2 separate regions of the Homo sapiens genome follow, and region 2 is linked to region 1. Evidence: promoter capture Hi-C in human tissues and cell types (Jung and others, 2019). All regions are on one chromosome and are shown on one strand. Each heading gives the region's core, a stretch centred on a gene start or on the middle of the fragment in contact. The rest is flanking DNA. Distances are from core to core; before and after follow the strand shown.

What was found. Contacts are between HindIII fragments. The study calls those that stand out against the background at their distance.
Region 2: a contact is called between a fragment that was not itself captured here and the fragment with the promoter of MARCKS in region 1, in 1 of the 25 tissues and cell types used here (bladder).

Annotation. Positions count from the first base shown.
Region 1 is chr6:113,855,935-113,858,642 of GRCh38, forward strand. It overlaps MARCKS (myristoylated alanine rich protein kinase C substrate), which reads left to right and starts at 1,411. Exons shown (of 2, transcript NM_002356.7): 1 at 1,411-1,913. The coding sequence starts at 1,812. RefSeq lists enhancers at 166-225, 246-295, 566-1,111, 1,112-1,655, 1,443-1,492. The HindIII fragment of the contact is 5,128 bases long and covers 69-2,708 here.
Region 2 is chr6:112,732,415-112,735,114 of GRCh38, forward strand. The region is part of intron 2 of LOC105377949 (a long non-coding RNA gene); the gene reads left to right. All of the region lies in intron 2 of LOC107986634 (a long non-coding RNA gene), which reads right to left. Among named protein-coding and RNA genes, the nearest start is that of RFPL4B, 390 kb to the left of the region's middle. The HindIII fragment of the contact is 7,131 bases long and covers 1-2,700 here.

The DNA of each region.
Region 1 (2,708 bases), core at 161-2,660:
CCAGCACCAGGAGAAATGAACCATTCCCTCGACTGCTTCTCACCTTCATAAGCGAAAGATTATTCCTTGCAAGATCACCAAATGTAAACGAGAAAAGGTGGTCTGATTTTGCCACGAGTGAAAACTTTGGGAAGAAAATGCTTATTAAGCTGTTTCCTTGGTTCCCCTCACCCCTCATACTTTAAGTCAGTGCCTTGTCTCTCACGCACAAAAAGCGTCTGGTACTTCGGTGGCAAGGAGTGCAGTGACAGATGGAGGTATCCTGTGTACCATTATAGAAGGTTTTCCTCTAACCCAAGTTAGACTTGGAGAGCTCAGGGATCTTGCTATCTCTCAACATACAGAACATTTCTCCTTAGAACTGCAATCCGGTTTAGAATGTCATCGTTGCTGCTGCCTCCCTTCCTTTCAGGAGCACATTCGCCTGCGTGCGCACTCACACACACGTTCAAAAAGAGTCCATTCGATTCTGGCAGTAGGCTGAAAACGATCCATATTGACGCGAATAACATCCCAACTGTAAATATGGATTCGTCTACTCGAGGCTGTGTCTCATTTCACCATAGAGGAAAATTATGTCATTTAAAACAGTGATAAAACGCGAAGAGTTTCGATCTTCTGTAAATGGCTCTCACTTTGAATTGTGGGGGAAAAAAATCACTAATTGGGAATAGCCAGAGAAGGGGGAATTTGTTGAGCGCCCAAGGCCAATCTCAAAATATTTTATTTCATGCCAATGTGGGAGAGGGAAGGGAGTGTGGCTTCGCTGTTTGCCGCTTTTGCATTTTCCACATCTGGCCTACAGACCTAATTCTAACTTGCGATCTCGCTTGATGAAATTCGATCTTCGTGGTTTAAATACCTTTCAATTTGGGACGATTTAACCATTGCAGCAGTTCAAAAAACAAACCCTGAGCATTATCTGTAAAACCAATATGGAAAAAAGAAAGAAAACATGCTGCAAACACACAAATCGCAACCATTGTCTTTAACACTCGCATACACACACATACACATAAACACACGGAAAGATGGGGGAGGGGAGCGAGTGGAGAGAGAGAGACACACGGATATAGACCGACGAGAGTCAATGCGAGTCAAGTTAACGCTTTCTCCGCCCCGATGCACAAGTACCCCCCTCCCGTGTTAATTAATTCCAAACAAAGCAAGCCAATCAAGAAATGCATTATTATTTTCAAGCAGAGAGAGACGAGTGCCATGTATTTTTTAATTGATTTATTTATTTGGAGGACATTAATTCTCGGTCTGAGGCTGATTTTCAAACCGTTTGCAAAGCGCGGCTCCATTGTTCGCCAGGCGCGCAGACCCCGCCCCCTGCTTTGTGTGCGGCGCGCGGATTGGCCGACGCGCGCGGGGGCCGCGTCAGCGCCCGCGAGCCCATTCATCTGTGCACTTGGGCGTTGGACCCCGCATCTTATTAGCAACCAGGGAGATTTCTCCATTTTCCTCTTGTCTACAGTGCGGCTACAAATCTGGGATTTTTTTATTACTTCTTTTTTTTTCGAACTACACTTGGGCTCCTTTTTTTGTGCTCGACTTTTCCACCCTTTTTCCCTCCCTCCTGTGCTGCTGCTTTTTGATCTCTTCGACTAAAATTTTTTTATCCGGAGTGTATTTAATCGGTTCTGTTCTGTCCTCTCCACCACCCCCACCCCCCTCCCTCCGGTGTGTGTGCCGCTGCCGCTGTTGCCGCCGCCGCTGCTGCTGCTGCTCGCCCCGTCGTTACACCAACCCGAGGCTCTTTGTTTCCCCTCTTGGATCTGTTGAGTTTCTTTGTTGAAGAAGCCAGCATGGGTGCCCAGTTCTCCAAGACCGCAGCGAAGGGAGAAGCCGCCGCGGAGAGGCCTGGGGAGGCGGCTGTGGCCTCGTCGCCTTCCAAAGCGAACGGACAGGTAAATTCTACCTGTGGTTGTGGTCATTTATTTCGTGTCTTTCTCTCCTTCCCTCCTGGTGGCTCCCAAGGCTCATTCGTGGAGAGGAGTGTGGCTGGATTCTAGTCTGAAAGTTGAATGGAAATGGATAGCCTAAATTGTGGATTTTTCATAGCCGGGGTCCCCCCACACCAAAGGAGTGGTTCCTTAGAATCCTGGAGAATTCTTGAGTAGACGGGAGGAAAGGAGTGATAAATCGTCTAAAATGGCGTGGTTTGGAGATTGGCAGAACGTGACTAGCTAGGTGCCCTCCTTCCCCCGCCCCCAGCCAGGTTTCATTTGTGTTTGGGGGCACAATGGTGTTTGGGTGTCTCTCGGGTTTGTTGTCGAAGCTGGATTGTCTTCGAGATTTCTGAACTGGTGGTGTGATTGTGTGTGGCGGGGGGGGGAGTCGGGAAAGGGGGGCGCAATGGGGATGGTGGTGGAGAAAGGCGAGGAGGGAAAGGCTGTCTTATTGTATGCCGCGGCGGCGTGCCCTGGGTTCTTGGAAAGGTGGCTGGCTGGGGCCAGACAGAGGGCTTCGGTACCTTTTGATGAGGCTTTCCCACTGTCCTAAATCTTTATTCGTAGCTGTCTGTGGAATTACACATCCATTTGATTTTTAAATGGTATCTGTGGGGTGGGAACACTCGGTGGGTCCTTTAAGAACCTTTCCAGATGGTCAAAAAGAGGCGGTTCGTGCCTTTCGGTCGGGATTGTTCTTGTGCGTGGCGCCTCGACCACCCGCGAGGGGCCGCCCGGCGCTGCCCGGACCCA
Region 2 (2,700 bases), core at 201-2,700, 1.1 Mb before region 1:
TAAAAGACTCTCCAGGGCTTGTAGACGTAACAGCACCTTGGACTACAGGTTTGAAAATAGGCATACGTTAAGAAGACAGTTTCAGATTGAGATATAAGAAATACAGCAACCATCTTCACCAGGAGAAACATGGCTAGCTAGGATGATGTCTCCACTGTTGTGGGACTATTACAAATGAATTACAACTTTCACTTTGTCTTTGGCTTATTCTCTCCAGATATAAAGTCTTAGGTGGGAGTATATGATTAGCTAAGACTTCATCACATGTCCTGTACTCTGGTTGCCTCTGTAACAAAAGTGGGGCAATTTCTCTTGCCAACACTACACATAATGGAGACTCCCCCAAAACTCAGAAGGGAGGTAAGATGCAAATTAAACAATTTTTAAGTCTACTACAGATCCTGGCAAAGGCTTTCTAGTTTGATTTTATAGCCAGTGGTGATCTGCCTCCAAATCCTATCTATCTTGAATTATGGCTTATGCAGGTTTAATAAGTCACCTCTTACTAGTTTAATTCAGGAGCCTCTTCTCTTGTCTTGGACATTTTTGGTAATTAAGCCTACTCTTTCTACTTGAAACAACCATACTCATGTTTCAGGACTTTATCTCCCTCTGATTCTGCCTTCTCTGGTTGTTCTCTATCAGACTTTCATTTATTTCTCTATTTTCAAAAAACTGATTTTCTCTAGAAATTCAGTCTTTGCTTCTTTTTTCTTCTGAATTTCATACTATGAGCAACACCATTCACTTTTTACTTTCCACATTTAACACATATATAAATAAATTCCAAATCAACATACTTCCTGCTTGGCCTCTCTCCTCGTAAGATACAGATTGGAATTAAATGCTTACACCAAGAACTTCACATGCCCATAACCAAACTAAATATGTTCTCACAAATTGTTTTTTTCCTCTTAATCTCTATCTTTATGAAAAAACACTATTTTTAATTGATGCAAACAGTTATTGAATCTTCTCTTTCTCTTCCTCAATCTCATAACCCCCATGAACATCCTTTTGGTTGTCAAGATCTATTAATTCTACGCTTAAGTCTTGCTTCTTTCTCTCTGCTCTTTTCTACCCTTACCCTCCCTGTCTTAGCTTAGGCCCTACATATTGTGTCTTTTAATGAACTGATGATGGCCTATGGGTCAGTTATGTCATACCATATTTGTCTCCTTGGTGTTTAGTGCTTGGGATATAGTATCATTATCGAATTGAAACATTTTAAAATTCCATTGTAAAGGAGAAACGGTCTTGTATATATGACTAAATATATGTGCATCTGTGCCTACATTCACTATAATCATTATGACTTAGATAAGATGTAAAATAGATTTAATGACTAAAATATATGAACAATATATGGCAATTTATATGTGAATTACTGTTTGAAGTATATGTGAAAATATCAGTGGGACATTTTAAAATCTTCTGTACACACTCATGTGTTCAATATTGAGCCAGTATATGAATGAGTCAGAGTAGCTGTGGCTTCTTGAGCTGGTTGCTCAGCTATTCCTGTGCTTTCCTTCTTTTACGTTTCTTTGTTCCACTTTATTTTACCCCAGTTTTAAACTCTTGATAATTAAGTATGCAATACAGAGTTCAAAATCTAAGTTACATTTTCTGTGGATATTTTAAATTAATAATGGGAATGGAAATGTATCACTCAATACACCTCTAATTTCAGTATTTTATTTTTTTAAAGTTAGCATTTGCAACTATTAAATCACTGTTAGTTCATTAAGATTAACCTTTCCAAAAACAATTAGCTCATTTCATATTAGTCCATTTTTATACTGCTATGAAGAAATAACTGAGACTGGGTAATGTATGAAGAAAAAGAGGTTTAATGGACTCACAGTTCCACATGGCTGGGGAGGCCTCACAATCATGACAGAAGGCAAAGGAGGAGCAAAGGCACGTCTTACATGGTGGCAGGCAAGAGAGTGTGTGCAGGGGAACTACCCTTTATAAAACCATCAGATCTCATGAGCTGTATTCACTATCATTAGAATAGCATGAGGAAAACCCGCCCCCATGATTAAATTAACTCCCATGTGGTCTCTCCCATGACATGTGGGGATTATGGGAGCTACAATTCAAGATGAGATTTGGGTGGGACATAGCCAAACTGTATCAGAGTGCAATGACAATTTTTGTACAGTAAGCTGGATAGAGGTTACCTGGGGCTTGGTAAAAAAAAAAAAAAAAAGCCATGGTTTATTTATATTAAATAATTTTAATAAAGTAACATACACATAATTAGGAAGGTATTACACACTAAATTTATATGCAATTTTTTAAATTAAAGCTTTCCGTCAGTTTTCATTCATGATCACAGCTTTCTCTTTTTAAATAATGGATGTTATATCTGAAGTGACTACATACAATTCCTAATCAGGACTTTCATTTTGCTTTCTTAAAATTGTAAAAGACCGTGATTGATAAGCCATACGGTTCAGGCCAGGAGGTGATAAATAATGTAAAATCATTTATTAAAGCATTAAACATTTTACAATTGGGATTACACTTAAAGAATATAAAACTCTCCATTTTTTATTGATAAAAGTAATGTTGAAATTTTTCAAAACACAAATGGATTTCAAATTCAATAGTACCTTTAAAAAATTTAAAATACTTTATTTCCAGCTTCATTGAGATACAACTAAAGTACAATAAACCACATATCTATGA